Regions from separate parts of the Homo sapiens genome. Here all the other regions are linked to region 1. Evidence: promoter capture Hi-C in human tissues and cell types (Jung and others, 2019). All regions are on one chromosome and are shown on one strand. The core of a region is centred on a gene start or on the middle of the fragment in contact, and the rest is flanking DNA. Distances in the headings are between cores, read along the strand shown.

Region 1 (2,888 bases), core at 172-2,671:
CACTCTGCCTGGCACTCTTTGTTCCCCTTACTCCAGAGCATCTATCACCAACTCACACACTACATATATTCATTTACTCTGTCTCCCATACCAGAATGTAAATCCTTTGAGGGCAGGGATTTTATCTGTCCTGTTCGCTATATGACAATGACATAGAGTAAGGATTGAGCTCAATAATTACTGAGTACATGAATATCACAAGCTATACATCATAGGGATTAGGCCTCCCTCATCTGATTCAAGACTCAGAGGGGGTACATGAACTGCCCAGGCTCACACAGCCAGACAGCAACAGAACCAAGACCTAGGGCTCTTCACTCCTGTTACATCACACCATGGCAATGATTTTACATTCTCCAACTGATTCAAATCATATGGCAGCTAGGGATTTGGGGGCTCCATGTTTTATTTCAATTGCAGTTCAAGATTTCTTTTTATCTTTGTGGCTGAGAACCCTACAATAATTTTGGAAAGCAAAACCCATCTACCTGGAGTAAATCTTTAATATACACCTGACTACACAGGCCACAACATGGGCCGTTCCTGATTCAGAAAATTCTAGAAGGGTCCTATAGGCCCTTGAAGGTTATGATGTTTTAGCTGATCAAGTTCTGTCCTTTGCTGCCTGTGGTCGAATGGTACAGCAGCTGTCTTTTCTGATAAAGGGCACAGTTAGACTTTGGTTTAAACAGGAAGCCAAATGTTAACTCCTCAGTCTCCAGGTTAGCACACTGGGCTACCTCTGTGGTTTCCACAATTCTCTTCTTTCTTTCCAAACCCTCAGGAGCCACCCTCCATATTAACGCTGTCTCCTTCCAGGTTAAGCTGATGAAAGGAAGGGGAAAACGATTCACTTTCCAAAATTGAATCGGAGAAGTCCAGGGCCTCATAGGAGGAGGCCGCTGTGTGTCCAGATGGCCAAAGGTCTGTGAGAGCCTGGGCCGTGGTTTGCGTCCTCTCGCTAGAGGCCGTGCGCCCTCCCGCCTGGCCCCGACAAGGCGCCCCGAAACCTAGCCCCGCGCCGCTCGCTAGGCCTCCACCTGCGCGGCCCCGCAGCCGCCTGTTCAGGAGCGGCTTCCTCCCTGAGCCTGCGGTCGCCGCAGCCTCCCCGTCTTAGAGCGGGAACCCGGAGCTCGGATGCGGTCCCAGGATGGGCGCCCCGCGAGCAGGCTGGAGGGCGGGGAGAGGGCGCGGCAGCCGCGGGCCTCGGTTTCTTCATCTGCAAAGGGAAGGGTGGGGGGTCCCCAAGACCCCAGTCCACCGGCAGGGACGGCGACGCGTCCGGCCTCCGCCGCGCCCGCAACACTTGTCCCGGGCGCCCCCCGCCCTCTCCCGGACCTACTTCCCCGAGCCGCTCACGCCCATCACCAGCAGCGCGCCCGGCGCCGCCATAACCCAAGCTCGGCTCCTTCCCGTCGCCTTCCGGGCCCCGCCGGCCCCGGCCTACCCGGCGCTCGAGGGGCGGAGCCGCTCTCGCCCCGGCCGGGGCAGTGAGGGCCGTGCCCCTCTGCGCCCTCCCCGTTTTCCCGCGCCCCTTTTCCATGCTTTCCTCCTCCCTTTCCCAACCTCCCGGCCTCTCTCTCCTGCCCCTTCTTTTCCTCTCCCCTCCCCTCCCTCTTTCCTCTTCCCGGAAGTGAAGCGCGCGCCCGGCCTGGCACTCGCGTCTCCCTGGGCTGGAGGGAGCCGCCCAAAGCCCCGCCACCTGTCGTTCTACTGCCCCGGCCCCTCTTGGTTCCAGAGGATCCTCACCCTGGCAGGCCGGATCCTCATCCACCCATGGAAAGCATTCATTCATTCATTTATAAAAATGTTCTTGTAAAAAGAATAAACAGAAAATAAGACTCATAATTTCCCACACCAGGCAGCAATAAGCAGCACTTCCTAAAACGACTCCCCTTTCCCCGCGCCCCGTCGTAGATAGATGGGTATGAGTATTTTGTAAAACTGGGATCAGGCCGTACACAGCGTTTTGTAATCTGGCCTTTTGTCACAATAATAAATGGCGGCCATCTTTTGGTGTCAAACTTAGGGTTGAGTGTTGACCGTAGCAGCATATGTCTTGGCTGTATGGCTCTGCTGTTAAATCCAGCACTGGTTGGGGCTTTAAGAGGAAGGAGCACCACTTTAAAGTGTCCATTTGCTTTAAAACAATGTTAATTATGTGTCGTTTGAACTATTTGATTAAAAGCACTTCTTTTTTTTTTTGAGACGGAGTCTCGCTCTGTCGCCCAGGTGGGACTGCGGACTGCAGTGGCGCAATCTCGGCTCACTGCAAGCTCCGCTTCCCGGGTTCACGCCATTCTCCTGCCTCAGCCTCCCGAGTAGCTGGGACTACAGGCGCCCGCCACCGCGCCCGGCTAATTTTTTTTGTATTTTTAGTAGAGACGGGGTTTCACCTTGTTAGCCAGGATGGTCTCGATCTCCTGACCTCATGATCCACCCGCCTCGGCCTCCCAAAGTGATTAAAAGCACTTCTAACCGCATTTGGCATCACCTCCTTTGGTCTTTTGTTAACCAAGGTAGGTATTACTCTGTGTCCTAGAAAACAATAAAAGTGACATAAAAGCATTTATCTAATGAATAGTTCAATTACCCCTGCACTGCCTTTGTTTTTCATATACTTAGCCCGAGTAGGTGAGATTTCAATCTGGATGGGGGCTGTACAGGTGAAGAAATTGAGGCTTGGAGAGAGGTCTTACAATTCAGTTATGGTCAATACACATTTCTTGAACATCTACCATGTGCTGGTTAATATCATATTAATATTCATTTAAAAGATTACCCTCTAGGCATTCTCAAGCTTGATAAGAGGAATAGATGTGTATGCAAATACTCTTAACTCGTGCCCTGCTTCGCTAGCTCAGTATGAAAAAAAAAAGCTCATATTT
Region 2 (2,888 bases), core at 104-2,603, 440 kb after region 1:
ACAGTGCAGCATGGCTGGGGAGACCTCAGGAAACTTAGAATCATTGCAGAAGTGGAAGCAAATACATCCTTCTTCACATGGCAGCAGCAAGAAGTGCCGAGCAAAAGTGGGGAAAGCCCCTTATAAAACCCTCAGATGTCATTAGAACTCACTCACTGTCATGAGAACAGCATGGGGGTAACTGCCCCCATGATTCAATTACCTGCCACTGGGCCCCTCCCACGACATGTGGGGATTATGGGAACTACAATTCAAGATGAGATTTGGTTGGGGACGCAGCCAACCCGTATCAGCTGGTGACAAAGATGCTTTGACCAATTCAAAGGTCTTGTCCAGCACCAGTAGCTGAGGCTGCCTCCCCTCATGTGGGCTGGGCTATGGCTGGGGGACATAGTCAAACAGGGAGCCACAGAACTGTGGCTGGGGTCTCTCCTTGCCAGACATAGTAATATTTGTGGACAGTACCACACCACAGACAGATATGGAAGACCTTGAGCTGTGGTTGACTAATACCAATAAGATGGCACAGAGTAGTGAACTCAAGGGGTTTAAAAATCTTAAGTTAGGCTTCTCTATTGATGTTTTTCATTTTGGTTTCCAAACGCTGGGATGTGGACTCTGTGTTGTGGGTGAGCTGGGCTGCGGTAGGTGGAAGGGAGGAAAAGAGATCCTGGTCTCTGTCCGGTATGTGTGTTTTGTGCAAATGCAGTGCATTTCATTTCTTTTCTTTTGGAGATGTGTGATCTTTCCCTGCTGCACTAGCCTTTTAATGGTACATTGTCTCTTGTTCCATTCCAAGCACACAATAGAGATGCCGATTTCTCACAGTGGCTACTACTGCCTGATGAAATATGGATTTGCATATTTTCCCTTCTGTTGCGCAAGGAGCTTGCTCAGGTTGCACAAGTGTGTTATCACTTCCACCAACTTGCAAGTGACAAAAGCCTCTGTAAGCAGACAAAACAATATTTGAAATGAATGAACTATTACTGGGAATATGTTCATATATTGTTGTCAAGTTTGCCTTCTAATTTTTCTTTTGTCTAAAGAAAGTCCTTGGGCAAGTCCATTACACCTTCCTGGCCATTATTATATTAGTTAATACAATCTTGCTATTTATTCATTTGTTCATCAATCCACCTAACCTGTAAATTAGATGCTAGGGGAATATGAGGAGGATGAGTCATTGTCATGTACTTTTATGCTATCAGGGAGACAGACCTAAAATCAATGAATGGAGGCACAAGTATAATGGCAATAATAATAATATTAATAACCATTAGGGGCATTTATTGAGTACTTAGTTATGTGTCAGGCATTACACTCTTTCATGTACTATATCTCATTTATTTATCTCAATAATAATATGAATCAGAACTTTCTCCACCCCCGTCTTGCAGATGAAGGAAGTCAGCCTTGGAGAAGTTAATGATGTGCTTACAGTCTCACGGCTGGTGGATTGTAGAGCTCTCGTGTTGCTGTTACACAGGGGAAAAGCAAAGTATCGAGTAGCTGTGGAAGGAGGAAATAATTCAGGAGGAGGTGGCATTGGTGCCACATTTTGAAGACTGAGTAGCATTTTGAAAAGAGGAGAAATGGAAGGTAGAGGGAAGAAGGGCACCCTCAAGAGATTGAATAGCATGAGGAAAACACAGGGCCATTGTATCAGCTGGAGATTACATTTGGCTAACTGGTTACAGAGACCTGAAATAACAGTGAATTAAACTAGGAAGGATTTTATTTTTCTCTCACATGACATGAAATTCAGATGTAGATTGTCCAGGACTGATTTAATTGACTTAATATCATCATGGAGCCAGTTTCTTCTTTGTTTTTGTTTTGCCATCCTTAGGTCATGACTTTTATCATCAAGGTCACTGTAAAGCTACAAGGTGGCCCCAGTAGCCCCAACCATCATGTCATAGTTCCAGAAAGAAGATTTAAAAAACAAAAGAAAGAAAAAAGCAGGGAAGAGCAAAAGGGCAACTACCATCTGAGTAAACCCCATATTTTTAATTTTTTTTATGTGATGGCAGACAGAAGTGGCCAAAAGAGAAGACAGGAAAATAAAAGTATAGTATACTCACTTGCCCTTAGAGACAAGAGGTGGGGCACGCCAGACAGGACTACATGGGAAAGATACCAGATAGTCAGGAAGCAGAAGACAGGAGAGAGAAGGCTTAGACCAGAGCCTTTATTGGGGTTTACATAGGAAGAGCAAGGCAAAACTGGGTGAACAGTTTAGGGTTTGCTAGTTTGAGTAATCTGAGGGGCTCTAAGCTATGGGCATGGTCTCTAGTTACCTGGTGCCTGGCCCTGGGATGATTTAGGCAGAGGAATATCTTCTCCTGGGGTGTACAGGCCAGATGGAGCAGGCGAGGCTCTGGGTTGGTTAGTTTGCAGATCGTGGGCATGCTGGGGCTGAACCCTTTGCTATCTCTAAGAATTGGCCAAGGTGTTGGTGGGAGGCAGTCTCTTCCCAGCTAGAAATTTTTTTTTAAGATGTCAAAACATCATAATATATTGAAAATAAAAATATATACATATATTCTATTTAAAGATTGTTTTTCCTTAAATTTTAGAGAAAAAATTTTCTTTAAAAAATAAGTCATTTCCCATCCAATGACTTTCTATATCCCACTGGCCACCACTATTTACAAGGTAGGCTAGGAAATACTGGCTTTTTTGTGTGTGAGTCTATTGTCTTCCCCAACATTATGGGGATTCTGTTAGGAAGAAGAGGAGCAGGATACTGGGCACAGCAGTGTTTGCAGCAGGCAGAAGGAGTACTTGGAGGAGTGAGCATGCTGTGTGTGCAAAGTAGTGCAGGAACAGCGTGCAGGAGGAGGCTGGGGGCTTGCTGTGGAGGGAGTCCCTTAAATGTCATA
Region 3 (2,888 bases), core at 141-2,640, 370 kb after region 1:
CCCCTACCCCATGACAGGCCCCAGTGTGTGATGTTCCCCTTCCTGTGTTCAAGTGTTCTCATTGTTCAATTCCCACCTATGAGTGAGAACATGTGGTGTTTGGTTTTTTGTCCTTGTGATAGTTTGCTGAGAATGATGGTTTCCGGCTTCATCCATGTCCCTACAAAGGACATGAACTCATCATTTTTTATGGCTGCATAGTATTCCATGGTGTATATGTGCCACATTTTCTTAATCCAGTCTATCATTGATGGACATTTGGGTTGGTTCCAAGTCTTTGCCAGTGTGAATAGTGCCACAATAAACATATGTATGCATGTGTCTTTATAGCAGCATGATTTATAATCCTTTGGGTATATACCCAATAATGGGATGGCTGGGTCAAATGGTATTTCTAGTTCTAGATCCTTGAGGAATTGCCACACTGTCTTCCACAATGGTTGAATTAGCTTACAGTCCCACCAACAGTGTCAAAGTGTTCCTATTTCTCCACATCCTCTCCAGCACCTGTTGTTTCCTGACTTTTTAATGATCGCCATTCTAACTGGTGTGAGATGGTATCTCATTGTGGTTTTGATTTGCATTTCTCTGATGGCCAGTGACGATGAGCATTTTTTCATGTGTCTGTTGGCTGCATTAATGTCTTCTTTTGAGAAGTGTCTGTTCATATCTTTTGCCCACTTTTTGATGGGGTTGTTTGTTTTTGAGATCTTTCTAGCTTTTTGATGTGGGCATTATAAATTTCCTGCTTAATGCTGTTTTAGCTGTATCCCAGAGATTCTGGTACATTGTCTCTTTGTTCTCATTAGTTTCAAAGAACTTCTTGATTTCTGCCTTAATTTTATTATTTACCCAAGAGTCATTCAGTAACAGGTTGTTCAATTTCCATGTAGTTGTGTGGTTTTGAATGAATTTCTTAATCTTGAGTTTTAATTTGATTGCACTGTGGGCTGACAGACTGTTACGATTTCAGTTCTTTTGCATTTCTTGGAGAGTGTTTTACTTCCAATTATGTGATCAATTTTAGAGTAAGTCTCATGTGGCAATAAGAATATATCTTCTTTTTAATTTAGGTGGAGATTTCTGTAGATATCTACCATGTCCACTTGATCTGGAGCTGAGTTCAGGTCCTGAATATCTTTGTTAATTTTCTTTCTCCATGATCTATCTAATATTGTCAGTGGAGTGTTAAAGTCTCCCACTATTATTGTGTAGAGTCTAAGTCTCTAAGCACTTGCTTTTGTAGGTCTCATAAAGCACTTGCTTTATGAATCTGGGTGCTCCTGTATTGGGTGCATATATATTTAGGATAGTTAGCTCTTCCTGTTGAACTCTATCATTATGTAATGACCTCCTTTGTCTTTTTTGATCTTTGTTGGTTTAAAGTCTGTTTTGTCAGAATCTAGGATTGCAACCCCTGCTTTTTTTCTGTTTTCCATTTGCTTGGTACATTTTCCTTCATCCCTTTATTTTGAGCCTATGTGTGTCTTTGCACGTGAGATGGGTCTCTTGAAGACAGCATATTGATGGGTCTTGGCTCTTTTCCCAGTTTGCCATTCAGTTTCTTTTACTTGGGGCATTTAGCCCATTTACATTTAAGGTTAGTATTGTTATGTGTGAATTTGATCCTGTCATGATGCTAGTTGGTTATTTTGCAGACTTGTTTATATGGTTGGTTCACAGTATCACCAGTCTGTGTAGTTCAGTGTGTTTTTGTAGTGGCTGGAAATGGTTTTTCCTTTCCATATTTAGTACTTCCTTCAGGAGCTCTTGCAAGGCTGGTACAGTGGTGACAAATTCCCTCAGCATTTGCTTTTCTAAAAAGAATCTTGTTTTTCCTTCACTTATGAAGCTTAGTTTGGCCAAAGATGAAATTCTGGGTTGGAAGTTCTTTTCTTTAAGAATGTTGAATATTGGCCCCCAATCTCTTCTTGCTTGTAGGGTTTCTGCTGAGCTGCTGTTAGTCTGATGAGTTTCCCTTTGTAGATGACCTGGCCTTTCTCTCTGGTTGCCCTTAACATTTCTTCTTTCATTTCGAACTTGGAGAATCTGATGATTATATGTCTTGGGGATGATCTTCTTGTGGAGTAATGTACTGGGGTTCTCTGCATTTCCTGAGTTTGAATGGTGGCAGGTCTTGCTAGGTTGGGGAAGTTCTCCTGGATGATATCCTGAAGTATATTTTCTAACTTGGTTCCATTCTTCCTGTATCTTTCAGTTACCTCAGTCAGAATCAGGGATAGGTTCAGGCTCTTCACATAATCGCATATTTCTCAGAGGTTTTGTTCATTATTTTTTATTCCTTTTACTCTATTCTTGTCTGCCTGTCTTATTTCAGAAAGATAGTCTTCAAGCTCTAAGATTCTTTGCTCAACTTGGTCTATTCTGCTACTGATACTTGTGATTTCATTGTGAAGTTCTCGTGTTGTGTTTTTCAGCTCCATCAGGTCCATTATGTTCCTCTCTAACCTGGCTATTCTGGCTATCAGCCCCTGTATTGTATCATTGTGAGTCTTACCTTCTTTGCATTGGGTTAGAACATACTCCTTTAGCTCAGTGATGTTCGTTATTACCCACCTTCTGAAGCCTACTTCTGTCAATTCATCCATCTCAGCCTTAGCCCAGTTCTGTGCCCTTGCTAGAGAGATATTGTGGTCATTTGGATGAGAAGAGGCATTATGGTTTTTTCAGTTTTCAGTGTTTTTGCATTGATTGTTTTCATCTTTGTGGGCTTATCTATCTTCGATCTTTATGGTTGCTGACCTTTGAATGAAGTTTTTGTGGGGTCTTTTTTGTTGATGTTGTTGTTTTCTGTTTGTTTGTTTTTCTTTTAACAGTCAGGCCACTCTACTCTAGGGCTGCTGCAGTTTGCTGGTGCTGTGCTTCAG
Region 4 (2,888 bases), core at 146-2,645, 260 kb before region 1:
AGGCTCTGTCTAAATAAATAAATAGTATAATAAACTGTCTCTGGTGATTATTCATCCTCTGAGCTTTAGACTCCTGTTTTCTACTGCCACGAGTTTGCCAGTCTAGTTCAGGGACGGTTGCCTATTCAGAGCAAATCAAAACCAAGCTTTTAGGGTCACTAGCTGGATTTAGAATCAAGAGATATAGAAATATCTTTATTCTATTTTTTCTCTTCTATATATTAATAAGAAAAGAATTTAAAAGGAATTAATCTTGAATAAGTTCGGGTTAGTGAAAAAGGAGAGAGTTAGCTTTGGATGAAAAGATTCTTAAGAGACATAACAAATCAAATGTATTGTGGACCTTGTTTAGATCCTGATTTAAATAAACCAATTGTGAGACACATTTTGAGGCAATTGGGGAAGTCTGAATATGGACTGATTGGTGTTAATATTGTTAGTGTGATAATGACTTTTTGGTTATGTCCATATTTTGTGTGAATGCCGATTGCAGTATGTATAAGTAAAAAGAGGAATTTAACAAAATGAAGTATGTATAGGTGAGATGAATGACATTTGGGATTGCTTTATAATATTTAAGCAAAGTAAAACAATAGGCATATTTGAAGCAGCTGTGACAAAATCTTGATAACTTTTAAATCTGGGTGATGGCGGTTCATTTTATTATTTCTTTTGTTGTATTTTAAAATTTTCATAATAATTTAAAAAAGGAATTCAAGCAGACAGATTATTGGTAGCAGGAGGCTGGAGTATACTAAGCAAGAGGACAAACAGTCACTCCAAATATCCTTCTTAACTGAGTTTGATGCCAGCAAAGCTCAACTACAAATTCAGAGGACCAGAGATGTCACTCTAAAACGCCAAACATTGAACCAGTGAGACTGACTGGCAGCAGATGGGAACAGTCATTAAGGAACTAATTATTAAGAGGCCTGATGGCAAGCTGTGTTTGATGGGGGTGGGTGGGGACAACTGGGTTTTTAATGCTATGCCTTAAATAGTATCACTGCCTGGCTGGATTTTAGAGTAGAGTATTTTTATGTTTTGGATGTTTAACTTCTTTTTACATAATTTATACTAATAATAATTATTATTACGGTTAAGGTAATGATGCCAAGTCTGTAAGCAAGCAGTATTCTTTGAAAGTAACAAAGCTAGAGCATGATGCAGAACAGGCAAAAGTCGAACTGATTGAAACACAAAAGCAGCTACAGGAGCTGGAAAACAAAGATCTTTCTGATGTTGCAATGAAGGTAAAATTACAGAAAGAGTTTCGTAAAAAGATGGATGCTGCAAAGCTGAGAGTTCAGGTAATTTAAAAAATGTAATTGAGAAAACTTATTTAAGCTTTCTTGCTTCTGAGGATTCTTGTACTGAGTTAGGAAAGAAGTGGGATTCAGTTTATACCAGCAAGAGAAACTGGGTATCAACTTTTCTTTTGTAGTGTGCTGGTCGATTTACATATTTTACAATCTGGGTAGTATATTTCTTAATTCAAGAAGTATCTTCTTTCAATCATCATATCAAAAAACCACATGGTAAGAAATAAACGTAACCACGAAACAGTGTTTATTTCTGAAGGACAAAGGATTAAATAATGATTAAATAATACAAATAAAACAGCTGGTACATATATGACACTTTGTAGACACTCAACAAATGGGAACTATTTCGAGATATGGTTTTCCCAAACCATAACTGATTGGCTTAAGAAAGGTTAATAACTTTGTGTACTGCAACTCATCCTTAACTTCCTAATGCCTGGTTTTAGCTTTAACTTTAGAAATAGCTACAGTTAAAAATTCTATTCTATGAGAAATATTCCATCACATGGAGATTTTGTGTGATGAAGCCATTTCCAGGTGCTTTGGAGATAGTCACAGTGCTTTGTTAGTCTGATCATAATGAACTTTCTAGGATGTGTCCTCTATTTCTTTATCTCTCATGGTCTACTGCTTTCTTTCATGTTATAGAAACATTTTTATATTTTTCCATTTTAGGTAGAGTTGTAATTAACCTATTCACAGCATTATTATTATTATTATTATTGAACTATGCCACAGTTATTTGCTTTAAACAAAATAGATGTTTACAATATACCTCTGGTGTGCCCGGTATATTGTAATATACCAGTATATTCTGGTGTGACAGGCCTGAAAAGTCCCTCCTGGGGTTTCTGATGCCACCTCAAACATCTGGATATTTCCACTAAAAATTGTTACCTAAATAGTTTCTCAAGTCAACATCAAGTTAAAATAATATGACTTGAATATTTGAACTGCTTAAAGGAGGACATAGGGTGGTTATCTATGTCACACCTTCCATTTTCCTTCAGCATAGTTATTTCCACTTTGGAATTCACCTTTCCATGCTTTGCTTCCTGCTGTATATCCTTTTCTGCTAAGAGTACTGATAAGGAAAGAAAATGAAAGGTGTAGAACTTTACCTCAAAAGAAACATCTGATACAGCAGAGGACAGAAAGAAGACATAGTTTTAGAAATTTTGTACCTTTGACATATCCATGCACTACTCATGGGGATAAGGATGATAAGGAGGATGAGGAGGACAGTAGTTACCATTTGAGGGCCTATACATACCAAATGGTTTATACGCATTATTTAATCCTTTGAAGTGGGCATTTTTAGCCATTTTACAAATGTGGAAAGAAAGGTTTAGAAAGGTAAAATAACTCAGTCAGAGTCCCATAGTGGTGATGACAATACCGGTTTTCAGTTCTCTAACATATCATACTTTTTTTTTGAGGTGAAGTCTTGCTCTGTTGCCCAGGCTGGAGTGCAGTGGCATGATCTCAGCCCACTGCAGTTGCCTCCTCCCAGGCTCAAATGATCCTCTTGCCTCAGGCTCTCAAATAGCTGGGATTACAGGT

Evidence for each region. The method cuts DNA at HindIII sites, captures the fragments that hold promoters and counts their contacts. A contact is called where the count stands out against the background at its distance.
Region 2: a contact is called between a fragment that was not itself captured here and the fragment with the promoter of IDNK in region 1, in 1 of the 25 tissues and cell types used here (dorsolateral prefrontal cortex).
Region 3: a contact is called between a fragment that was not itself captured here and the fragment with the promoter of IDNK in region 1, in 1 of the 25 tissues and cell types used here (H1 embryonic stem cells).
Region 4: a fragment that was not itself captured here is called in contact with the fragment with the promoter of IDNK in region 1 in 1 of the 25 tissues and cell types used here (mesenchymal stem cells).

What each region holds. Positions count from the first base shown.
Region 1 is chr9:83,621,676-83,624,563 of GRCh38, reverse strand. IDNK (IDNK gluconokinase) reads right to left here and starts at 1,421. Exons shown (of 5, transcript NM_001001551.4): 1 at 1,343-1,421. The coding sequence starts at 1,392. RefSeq lists enhancers at 817-866, 887-1,016 and a silencer at 1,197-1,726. The HindIII fragment of the contact is 12,457 bases long and covers 1-2,888 here.
Region 2 is chr9:83,186,465-83,189,352 of GRCh38, reverse strand. It overlaps a transcript of RASEF not described here. Among named protein-coding and RNA genes, the nearest start is that of FRMD3-AS1, 31 kb to the left of the region's middle. The HindIII fragment of the contact is 4,691 bases long and covers 1-2,888 here.
Region 3 is chr9:83,251,238-83,254,125 of GRCh38, reverse strand. All of the region lies in intron 13 of FRMD3 (FERM domain containing 3), which reads left to right. The region is part of intron 2 of FRMD3-AS1 (FRMD3 antisense RNA 1); the gene reads right to left. Among named protein-coding and RNA genes, the nearest start is that of FRMD3-AS1, 33 kb to the right of the region's middle. The HindIII fragment of the contact is 7,236 bases long and covers 1-2,888 here.
Region 4 is chr9:83,882,235-83,885,122 of GRCh38, reverse strand. KIF27 (kinesin family member 27) reads left to right here. Exons shown (of 18, transcript NM_017576.4): 10 at 1,105-1,310. Among named protein-coding and RNA genes, the nearest start is that of KIF27, 38 kb to the left of the region's middle. The HindIII fragment of the contact is 3,526 bases long and covers 1-2,888 here.